Linked DNA regions of Homo sapiens: all the other regions are linked to region 1. The links are contacts of gene promoters, found by promoter capture Hi-C in human tissues and cell types (Jung and others, 2019). All regions are on one chromosome and are shown on one strand. Each heading gives the region's core, a stretch centred on a gene start or on the middle of the fragment in contact. The rest is flanking DNA. Distances are from core to core; before and after follow the strand shown.

Region 1 (3,853 bases), core at 174-2,673:
CTCTACTGAAAATACAAAAATTAGCCCGGTGCAGTGGCGGGCACCTGTAATCCCAGCTACTTCGGAGGCTGAGGTGGGAGAATTGCTTGAACCCGGGAGGCAGAGGTTGCAGTGAGCTGAGATGGTGCCCCTGCACTTCAGCCTGGGTGACAGAGCAAGACTCCATCTCAAAAAAAAAAAAAAAAAATGTGAAAAACGAGTGAAAAAAAAAAACAAAATTAATAAATGTAAGCCAATAATAAAAATAATGAAAATCATGAAATAGAAAAATAAACAACAGAGACAATCAACGGTCAATTTTTCTGTACTCCCTGCACAAAACTTCATTTCAAAATAATTTTATATTTAAATATATATCCAGAACCACAGAGATCTTAGAAGAAAAAATTAGAGAAATATAGAAATAAAATGAGAACTGTGGGAATAAAAATCAGGAAGTAGTTGCCTATGAGGTAGATTGGGGGAAGGTCAGGGAATTAACAGGGAACAGGCAGAAAACAACTTTCTGGAGTGACGGAAATGGTCTATATCTTTTTTGGGGTGCTACTTACATGGGCATATATAACTGTCAAGTTCCACTGAACTGAACACTGAAGACCTGGGCATTTTAATGCATGTAAATTATATTTCAATTTTTTTGAGTAAAGTGTCTTGGGAAGCTTATGGCGGTGATATTTGGGCAGTTCTGGGGCATAGGCTTCAGAAGCATTCACAGTATGTCCAGTTCAAGAATTTGCTGAGAATCGTTTTGCAGCCAAAAATATGGATAAGTTCGAACACCTATGATAAGAGTCATTGGGGCATACAACCACAAATCCCCACTCTTGTGATACAGGCCATATCATTAAGTGGTTATCACCAGATAGCTTTCCTTCAATGATGTTGTTCATCTAGGAACCCAGGGCTCTCCAGGGGCAAATGACCATTGAGGTTTCAGATATATTGGGTAGGAAAGAAAGTCACCTCACATAAAACTAAGTGATTGGAGCTGTCACCATTGCAAATTTCTAAATTTTGTAAGACAGCAGCAACATTTCAAATGATAGTCTGAGAGAGGAGATAATGGGCTTACATGGATTTCCCTCCAGATGGATTTACTGAACAAGGGCACAATTCAAATTGCACTTGCAGATTTCTCCTGGTCTAGTTTAAGTTCACAGATTGTGGATCCCAGACAGCTGGTATCAACTGACTAGTGTCCTGTTAAGGCTAAACCCAAGACTCTTTGCCACACTGCAGCATTAGGATGGGACTTCTCTTCCTGTTCCTGGGAAGAATTAGAGATGTAACCCAAAGGTCACTATTTTTCTGAGATAAGGATCCCATAGGAGGAGAGAGCAATGAGTACATGGCCAGAGATCAAAGTGATAAGGGTTGGGCCAGAAGCCACAGTGCATAAAGCTTCAGACTTGCCACAGGAAATGAGGTGAGAAGTACGTCCACTCTTCTGTCCAGCTTTTAACAATCTAACTAATGGTTAGAGATTTTTCATTTTCTTTCAGCTACTCCTGCAGTGGTGGGGACACAGAATGTTTGCAAAAAAAATGGGGTGGAGGAAAATGAGGCATCTGTGTGAGTATATAACCATTTGACATCTCTTTTTAGCCCTCTCCAGGGTCACCCTAGAATCAGATCTGCTCCCCAGCATCTTCTGTTTCCTGGTGAGTGATTCCTGCTACTTTGGATGGCCATGACGGGCTGGAGCTGCCTTGTGACAGGAGCAGGAGGGTTTCTGGGACAGAGGATCATCCGCCTCTTGGTGAAGGAGAAGGAGCTGAAGGAGATCAGGGTCTTGGACAAGGCCTTCGGACCAGAATTGAGAGAGGAATTTTCTAGTAAGTAAACTTGGGTCATGGGTGTGTGGTTCCATCTTAAACACTGCATGTATGTGGGGGGAGATGGACCTTGTCTAGCAAGTTATTGAAATTTGTAGCCAAATCTAAGCCAATCTCACATCCAAAGTCATCAAGAAATAAATATTAAATAGTATAAAATGGCATAGTATGAAAGATACTGGGTGGGATTTCCAGAGACTAGATTCTGGCCCTGACCCAGAACTTGAGAAGCAGCCACCTCAGCCTCCAGGCCTCTTTTCTTCTCATCTAGAAAATCCCACATCAGTTCTTTGTCTTGTCTGCAACTCTTTTATGTTCTGAAGCTTTTGTCTTGGCAATTGCTGTACAACATTCATAAAGGACACTATTACCCTGGAGACCTCACCAATGGGTCATTGTCTCTCTAGAACGTGCCAGGCTGTGTTTTGTTTTGCAGCTTCCTTAGTATCCTTTGTGAGGGCAAAATAAAAGGAAGTTAAGGTAAAGATGAGTGTATAAGTGGGTGTGTGTGACAGAGAGAGAGGAAAACAATAAGGGGGAGAGAGAGTCGGGGAGAGAGAGTCGGGGAGAGAGACTCAGAGAGAGAGACAATGAGAAAGACAGAGAAATAATGAAAAATATATAGTGAGAGAGAGAGCATCAGTGAGAGAATGTGTGTGCACAGTGCACAGCACAGAGCAGAGACAGAGTAAGAGGCAGTATAAGGCCAGACATGCCTCATTTAGATTTTGCATATATGGCTTTTTTTTAAAAAAAAAAAAACAAAACATTTACCTCTGTTGCTCATCATCAAAAAGAAATTGACTGCAGAATTTTCTGTGGCAACTCCTTGTACAAATGGCCCCAAGAGGCAGGTAGAAAAGGCATCACATCCAACAGGACAATGAACGCATCAAGGTCCGGAATCACAAAGCAACATGCTAAGGCCATCTGATTGATGCGTAGCAGAGCTCAGACCAGAGCTTTATCCATAGGCTATTTCACCTGGCCCCAGAGCTGATGCTTGGCAAAGTGGATCTTCAGTCTCTCCCTTTGCTCCTTGGTGTGCCCCAAAACAATTCCCTGTCCTCCTCCCCAACCCAGGGGATTTGGGGGACTGTGTGTCTACATGTGGGCTCTGGCTGCCCAGAGGGTCCTGCCCTGCCCACAGAGAATCCCCCACTTGACAGCACTCAGGGACCACACCCAACACTCTACTTTTGCTCTTCTCTGACCTCTTGAAATGTTCGATTTCTTCCACCCTCTGTTTTAATGTTGTCTTTGATAAACAAATATGAAATGCTTATAATCCTTGCCTGTGTCTCAGCAATATTTGCAATTTAACATCTGAAGCCAGAAAAAAGCAATGCTCAGCCTAGAGGTATTGTTCCCCTATGGTAAAAATGCAGATCATATAATAGACAGGCAGGGATCTGTATGAAGATAAAAACAGAGAAAGCATTCAGTGTTCTTTTTGTGCCAGGCACTTGGCCAAAGGTTTGCCAACTCATTTGCTCCTCATAACAACCCTATGAGATCGGTAATATTATCCTCCTTTTTTAAAGATGAGGAGATAGAAACAGAGAGGTTAGTTAACTTTTTGAAGGTCCCACAGTTAGCATATGGCAAAGCTAGATTTGAACCCAGACAGACTAGTGCAGCATCTGTGCTCTTAAGCAGTAGTTTGTCTTACAGCTCCTTTAGGCCTTCCTCTAGCCCAACTTACACCATAAAAGCAACTCCATTTAGTCTACATAAAACACTTGCCAAGTCTACAGTGCCTTGGAGAAGAAGGGAGCCATGACTTCATCAACAAAGTACCTTTTCCTAGTCCCTCTAGATCCCTGGGAACTCACTGGGGAAGAGTCCTTTTCTCTCAGCTTTGGACTTCTTCCACTTTGACACTCCTTTGAGCCAGTCTGTCTGAAGTGGCAGCAAAGAAGAAGCAGAGGAAGGCAGCAGGAAGGGCAGAGGTGGAACTAGAACCAGAGAACATCCCACTCTCAGGCTGTTACCCACATCACCACCAGCAGCCTCTT
Region 2 (4,229 bases), core at 1,524-4,023, 37 kb before region 1:
GCATGGGTGTGGGAAGGTGGAGCTTTTCTGGCAAGTTATGGCAAGTTGTAGCCAAACCTAAGCCAATCCCACATCCAAAGTCATCAAAAAAAGAAAATTAAATAGTATAAAATGGCATAGTGTGAAAGATACTGGACAGGCTGTCCAGAGACTGGATTCTGGCCCTGACCCAGAACTTGAGAGGCAGCCACCTCAGCCTCCAGGCCTCTTTTCATCTAGAAAATCCCACATCAGTTCTCATTCTTGTCTACAAGTCTTTTATGCTCTGAAGCTTTTTGTCTTGGCAATTGCTTTACATCATTCACAAAGGACAGCATTTACCTGGAGACCTCACCAGTGGGTCCCTGCCTGTCTAGACTGCCCCAAGCTTTGTTTTGTTTCATAGCATCCTCAGCATCTTTAGTGGAGGTAAAATAAAAGGAAGCGGAGGTAAAGATGAGTGTTTAAGTGTGTGTATGTGTGTGCATATGTGCCTGTGTGTGCATGTCAGAGAGTGAGAAAGAGAGAGAAAATGAAGGGGAGAGAAAAATCAGAGAGAGAAAATGAGAAAGATGGAGAACGAATGAGAAAGAGTGAGAGAGAGAGCAGCAGTGAGAGGGAGACAGTGTGCACAAGCACACAGCACAGAGCAGAGACAGAGTAAGAGGCAGTATAAGGCCAGGCATGCCTCATTTTCATTTCTCACATATGGCTTTTTTTTAAAAACCATTTGTCTCTGTTGCTCAATACCCGCCCCCCCCCCACCCCCACCCTGCAATTGCAGAATTTGTTGTAGCAACTCCTTGTGCAAATAACACTATGAGGAAGGTGGTAGAAAAGGGGTGATATCCAAGTGGACAATGAACGCATCAAGGTCCAGAAACAAAGCGATTTGCCAAGGCCATCTGATTAATGTGTAGCAGAGCTCAGACCAAAGCTTCATCCAGAGGCTTCACTTGGCCCTGGGGCTGACACTTGGCAAAATGGGTCTTCAGTCTCTCCTTTTGCCTCCCTGTGTGTCCAATTCCCTGTCCTCCTCCCCATCCCATGGGATTGGGAGGACTGTGTATCTACATGTGGGCTCTGATTGTGCAGAGGGTCATGTGCTGCCCACAGAAGAGTCCCCACTTGACAGCACTCAGGGACCACACCCAGCACTCTACTCTTCTTTCACTCTTCTCTGACCTCTTCTGATTTCCTCCACCCTCTGTTCTAATGGTGTCTTTGATAAACAAATATTAACACTTCATGAATTTTAAATGATTGTAATCATTATGTCTCACCAATATTTGCACTCTAACACGTAATACAAAGAAAAAGCAATGCTTAGCCTAGAGGAACAATTCCCCTGTGGTGAAAATGCAGGGGTATAATGGATGGGCAAAAGACTGTATGAAGATAAAAACAGAGAATCCTTTCAGTGTTTTTTCTGTGCCAGGCACTGTGCTACATGGTTTGCATGTGCCCACTCATTTGCTGCTCATAACAGCCCTATGAGATTGTTAATGTTATTAGCCTCCTTTCTTACAGATGAGGAAACAGTCAGAGAGAGATTAATGAACTTGTCCAATGTTCCACAGTTAGAATATGGCAAAGTTGGATTTGAACCCATGTGGTCTAGTGCAGCATCTGTGCTCTTAAGCAGTAGTTCGTCTAGCAGCTTGAGGAGGGAGGGAGCAATGGCTCCATCCACAAAGTCCCCTTTCCTGGTCTCTCTAGTTCCCTGTGAACTCACTGCGGAAGAGTCATTTTCTCTTGGCTTTAGACTTCTTCAGCTTTGAAATGACAATTCCTTTGAGCCAGTCTGAAGTTGGCAGCAAATGGGAAGCAGATGAAGGGAGCAGGAAGTACAGAGGTGGAAATACTACCAGAGAAAATTCCACTCTCAGGCTGTCACCCACCTCCTCCCCAGCAGCCTCTTCCCTGCCTCCCCCATTCCAGGGCCTCCTTGGAGTTGCCTGACAGTGGGAAGGGGCTGGGAGTAGACAAAACAAGGCAGAGGCATCAGGAGAGCAAATGGTCCCACCTGTATCCCAGGAAGGAATTTCTCCTGCTTTGAATTTTTCACTCTGAATTTTACTCTCACTGTTCTTTGGCCTTTGTTGCCAATTTCAGTTAAACTGACTTATTCTTACTCTTTCTCAGAAAAGTTGATTGTAAACAGCTATTCCTGCACCTGGTGTACAGGGTACAAGACTTGGAGGTGGGGTGGGCAACTTTGAGCCTTCACTAGAAACGTGACCTTTAATCTGTCCCTTAACCTCTCTGAGCCCCAGTTTCTTCACCAATAAAATGGGATTCAGAACACCTACCTCATGAGACAGCTGTAAAAGGAAATAAGCAAGCTGTGAGCTGTATGCAGATTATAAAGCACAAATGAGTGTAAAGTATTTATCTGAGCTCCATGTAGCATGGTGTTCATTTTGTGGGCTAATTCCAGGTGACAACTTTACTGGCAGCATCACTACCTGTGGATTTCAGAGGAGCCTGAAGACATTGATGTTGTAACTGCTGCCCTGGGCTACACAGCTGGATGTTAGTTCATTGGTGACTGACTCATTTTCAGCATTTGTACCTCCTTTGATAATATCCAATAAGAATTTTCAAAAAAATTCATTATTTAAACTCTTCTGCAATTCGCTAGTAATGGCTCCACTCTCCTCCCAGTTGCTCAAGCAGGAAACCATAGGGGTGATTTTATCTTCTCCTTTTCCTCTCAGCCAAGATCCAACAGGTACCAGGACCTTCAAGGTGAGGTCTGAAATTCCAACCTGGTGTATCTCTCTCCTCCTCTGCTTCCACTGCTGGACCCCGCTTCCAGTCCTCATCTAAACTTTGGCACAGACATTCTGATTAATCTCTTGATCCCCTGGCTTTCTCATATCCCCTATACCAGTCCATTTTATATCCTTGAGGCAAGGTTAACTTCCTACACTACAATTCTGCTTCTGTTTTTCTTTTTCTTTTTGAAACAGGATTTTGCTGTGCCACCCAGGCTGGAGTCCAGAGGCATGATCTCTGCTCACTGCCACCTTCACCTCCTGGGACCCATCCATCCTCCTACCTCAGGCTTCTTATTAGCTGGGAGTGTAGGCATTCACCACTATGTCTGGCTAATTTGTGTATTTTTGGTAGAGACGGGGTTTCACCAAGTTGTCCAGGCTGGTCTCAACCTCCTGGATGCAAGCGATCCACCTGCCTCAGTCTCCCAAATTGCTAGAATCACAGGTGTGAGCCACCACCCCTGGCCTGTTTCTCTACTTGTTCCAAATATAAATAAGGGGTTTTCTGTGACATGGTGCTGGAGACCGAAAATCACAATTCTGCATTACCTACAGAATTAAATTCAAACTTTTCCCTCTTATACCCAACTCTCCACAATCACCCTACTCTCCTTAAAAATTTTGGTGAGTCTCCCATGACCCTAGCCGTGCTTATATTCCAGGCACACCTGACAGCTCATTGCTCAGATTACTTTTCTGAAATGAGATGGGGTAGAAACAGATGTTTGCTCTTTCCCAAAAAATTGCTAAACGTGCTGACTTCTGTGCCTTTGTTTAATTGTTCCTTCCATGGAGTGTACATCCTCCACTCTAACAACCCAACTCTAACCATCCTCGAACACCTATGTAACATCATCTTTATCAGGAAACTTCCAAGCCAGATTCGGAAACCCTTCCAATGACCTGACCTATGTTCTTGCAGAGCTCCAGAACAAGACCAAGATGACAGTGCTAGAAGGAGACATTCTGGATCAGTCATGCCTGAAGAGAGCCTGCCAGGACATCTCGGTAGTCATCCACACCGCCTCTATCATTGACATCTTCGGTGTCACTCACAGAGAGTCTATCATGAACTTCAACGTGAAAGGTACAGTAGCCTGAGGAGGAGATGGAGCAAGGTGGAGCAAACAAGGATCAGAAAGATAAACAATGAAGGAAGAGAAGTCCCTCCGCTGAACACCTGCTATGCTCTGGGCCAAGTGTCTTTGCTAATCACTACCAACTGGGGGAGTTCAAAGCTGCTACCTTCAGTTTTTTACATGAGAAGACTAGGGCTGAGAGATGGCAAGTAACTTGTCCAAGGCCCCCCAGGTAAGTAAGTAAGTAGGAGAATGAGACTTTAAACTCACCCCTGTGTGACTCCAAAGGCTGTGGATGCTCTTTCTACTGTGGCTCCAATCAAATTCAGCTAAACTCCGACTTCAGACTCTTGATATCCAGCCACCCCTTGCCTCTGTGGGCCAGAAT
Region 3 (3,772 bases), core at 835-3,334, 45 kb after region 1:
GCTCCTTATTTACTATCCAATATGTCTCATTTTACAGCCTCTGTGTCTTGTGCATATCGAGTTGCACTCTCACTGATTTTTCATTTATATATCCTGTTCCGCACCCCTACACTGCCGTGTCTTGAGGACAGTAACTCACCATGTCATCTCTCTGTCCCCAGTGACTGACACAAAATAGACACATGGGCTGATGGAGGGATGGATGGATGGAAGGATGAAACACAAGTAAACTCATCTGTTAGAATGGAGAGAGGAAGGGATAGACAGTCAGGGAGCAGAATGCTTTGAATGACAAAGTAAGAAAGAATTCACAGATGACTTTTCAAGGTGTCCATGAACCTGAAGAAGCTAGATCATCATAAAGAGATCCAGGAGAAAGAGAAGGCGCACGGAGTGTATGGAGCTGAGAATGAACTCATTTGTGTGATATGAAGAGTGAGTGGGGTTGTGAGAGGCCTACAAGCAGGGAAATGGAAAGGCTGATGAAAGTGAAGCCCAGCTGCCAAGGTTATAAAGGGACTGGGAATTAAATCCAAAACCTGAAATGGCACAAGGCCCAGAGCATTTTTATACTATAAGAAAAAGAAAATTTGTTTTAAAAATTAAATTCAGAAGAGAATCTCACACTCTTAGGCAACTCAAGTGAGGATCACTCAACATCTCTGGCTACATGTTCTTCTTGAGACATCAAGAGACTCTGGTGGCAATTTGGAGGGATTTTTTTTCCTTTTTTTTTTTTTTTTTTTAATCATGGACCAAGATGCCACCCAAGTCTAATGAGCAGGGAATGGAGTCGGTGATCTGAGGCATGAAATAGGTTCATTATGAGGAAGTGAAGGGGGAAGGCTAGATGAACAGAAGAAAGTGGCTTGGCCACTCTGTCCCCAAAAGCAGGGGGCACTGGGGTCAGTTGCAGACTCCAAAACAGTCAGTAATCTGTTCTGGAAACCTGAAGCTCCCTATTGAACAGCGGACTCTTTCCTCAAGAAATGGAAGAACCAGCACTAGCAAAGTCAGCCATTCTTCCTAAACAGATACTGGTGACAGAGGTGTGGGCATGAGGTGGGCTGTGGGACTATTGTCATCCTAGCATGAACCCTGGCCACTGAGGTAGGAATACCCTTCTCATGAGCCCAGACCTAACTCCTTCCTGCATCAGCTGGAGTCTGTCAAATCCCTGGTGTAGCCCTGAGCAGAGCAGTTCCATGGGCACATGGCCTGTGCCATCACCCAGGCCCTGTGCTTGGCTTAAGGGGCTGCCATGGGACCCCACATTTCATTTTGCACTGATCCCTGTAAAATATGCAGGCAGTCTTGATTATGAGAACTTCTTTCAGCAGCAGGCAAAACACCTGTTGCCTGACCTATGGTGGGTAAATGGAAAAGGCTCCCTGGTTCTTCCAGGGCAGATCAATGTCCTTGTGGAGTTCAGATTTTAGAGCTAAAGAAAGCTTCCTCAGGCATGGAGGGGCACACCTATAGCCCCAGCTACTAGGAGACTGAGGCAGGAGGATCACTTGAATCCAGGAGTTCAAGGCCAGACAAGACCTCATCTCTAAAATTTTTATTAAATTGAAGTTAAAGAAGGATCTAGAGACCTTTACTCCAGCTTTTAACTGTGGGCTCCTTTCCTTATTTCATTTTACCAATGAGGAAACCGAGGCCTGGGAAGCAAGATGACTTTCCCAATGTTCACCTAGACCACCATCTGTAATAGTGACCTAGGATTTGCTACCTTTAAGATGAAAAGGGGGGTGAAGGCATAGAACTAGAAGGTTGCCCTACCAACATATTTATGAAGGGATTTAAAAAAACTGGGATGGGAGACATTTGAAAGAGGGCAGAGGGCAGGTTTAACCAGAAGTCAGCTAGCTAAGCCATTTGTCTGGCCCATACAGCCCAACCTCCCATGGGAACAACAGCTTGAGGAACGTGGGTGCTCCACGAACGGAGACAGGCAGATGTTTCATGATACAGAAATAAAAGTAGCTGGCTGTGAGAGGGACTAAGGAAAGGGGGAGAGGAGGGCAAAAAGAAACAAGTATTCTTTCATTTTAGAAACAGAATATTTCTACAAATGAGAGTGAGGGGTGCAAATCTTGAGTTCTCATTTCAATTTTGCCATCGAAGTTAAGCAAATCTCTTCACCTTCCTGGGTCTGTTTACCTTCCTGAGAAATGAAGGTTATGGCTCATTTCTAAGGTCTGTTGCCAGTGACATTGGGCTGTAAAAAAGTAAGTTGATTTGCATCCTCTGACACCTGCACACTTCTGCAGCTAAACTTCATAATAACACAAGCCTCCATGTGCTTATTTGTTTGCGTGAAGCTGAAGGCGCTTGAGAAAGTGGTTTCCCAGCACTTCCCTGGCTCTAGTGGCACCTGGCACCTCACTGGGAAAGGGGCATCATACCTCTCATAGGGTTGTCAAGGATCAAGAAGTGGGGCCAAAAAGTGTGGCCGATGCCCTCCCTCCCTGATATCTGCTGACCACTGAACTGCAAAACTTAGTGATGACTTAAATAAGGACTTTTGTCTTTACATTAAAATGTGGATGTTTCCCAAGTAGGTTTTAAAATTCTTAGAAAATCACTAGACACAAAAGTGGGCAGAGCCAATAGAGATAGTGCCTACTGAAGAGGAATCAGAAACCCAGAAAAGTCATGCCTTGCTCAAGTCCACTGCCAGTTAATGCCAAAGCTCTGCCCTGCACACTCCACGCACAGCACACCCTCAAAGGAGAGGCAGAACTAGTTCCTTCTTTCTTCCTGTTCTCAGGAAAGGGAGGCCATGCCTTCTCACTTCCTCATCACCCTGCCCCAGGAGCTGGAAATCCCAGAGGACACAGGCCACATGCACAGCAACTGCCTCTCTCCTCCTTCTAGGCTCCCAGGAGCTATGACACAAGACTTTAGGACACCCCTCAGCAGCCCCTTCTCTGCAGCACTGAGCACAACCACCTGGTAACCACCTTGCTTCCTAACATTCACACAAGCCCCTGAATCTTACAAGAGCCTTCGTGTTTGTCATTTGGTTTGATTTCCCCACACCTCATACCTGCATCTTTCCACTGCACAGATGAGAGCAAGATCAAGAATACCTATAGGGCTTGGTCTAGGCTGCAGCAACACTCAGCAGTGGCTGTGTCAGTCCAGTGAATCTCAGGCTATGAAGTCATGTCTGTGATTTCTACCAACTCTATTAACTTCAACACAGAAATCGGCAGAGCTACTTCAGGTGAAACCTTGAGGTGACCCTCATTTCAGACATTAGCTAATGCTGCCCTTGACAAGAGGCCTGTCTAGCCAGATCCTTTTCCAGCCCCTTGACAAAGTGAATTAGCTTTTCCAAGGTTACACACTGTTCCTTCCCTCACCCAACAAAGCCAGGTACAGTGGACATTGCCTAATTTGCAGCAGTGGTGGGAACCCTGACTTATAGTTGCAAAGTCCTTGGCAGAGAATCTGCTTAACACTGAGCCTTTGTTGAATGTACCGTCTTGCCCTAGCATAACATGTGAAGCCTTGACATGAAGTTCACCCTGTCCACCTCTCACCACCTGCAGCCCCAGGGGCCAAATCCTTAAAGTCATACATACAGTTGGCAAAATAATTCACCCCAAGCAGGTTGGGCAGGCAGGAAACAAAATCAGCCTTCACCTTCACCCTTAAATGGTGTTGGAATGTGTAAGCATCTCTACCTCTCTCATATCTGTCTCCCCAGCATTGAGCACTATGCCTGGAACATGTCTACTCAGCTGAGGGGTGAACTTCC

What was found. The method cuts DNA at HindIII sites, captures the fragments that hold promoters and counts their contacts. A contact is called where the count stands out against the background at its distance.
Region 2: a fragment that was not itself captured here is called in contact with the fragment with the promoter of HSD3B1 in region 1 in 2 of the 25 tissues and cell types used here (pancreas and thymus).
Region 3: a contact is called between a fragment that was not itself captured here and the fragment with the promoter of HSD3B1 in region 1, in 2 of the 25 tissues and cell types used here (bladder and pancreas).

The regions. Positions count from the first base shown.
Region 1 is chr1:119,505,787-119,509,639 of GRCh38, forward strand. HSD3B1 (hydroxy-delta-5-steroid dehydrogenase, 3 beta- and steroid delta-isomerase 1) reads left to right here and starts at 1,424. Exons shown (of 4, transcript NM_000862.3): 1 at 1,424-1,476; 2 at 1,606-1,835. The coding sequence starts at 1,691. RefSeq lists promoters at 1-1,605, 932-1,605 and an enhancer at 1,528-1,551. The HindIII fragment of the contact is 2,119 bases long and covers 1,031-3,149 here.
Region 2 is chr1:119,467,411-119,471,639 of GRCh38, forward strand. It overlaps the pseudogene HSD3BP1. Among named protein-coding and RNA genes, the nearest start is that of HSD3B1, 38 kb to the right of the region's middle. The HindIII fragment of the contact is 4,265 bases long and covers 642-4,229 here.
Region 3 is chr1:119,550,081-119,553,852 of GRCh38, forward strand. No RefSeq gene overlaps it. Among named protein-coding and RNA genes, the nearest start is that of HSD3B1, 45 kb to the left of the region's middle. The HindIII fragment of the contact is 6,778 bases long and covers 1-3,772 here.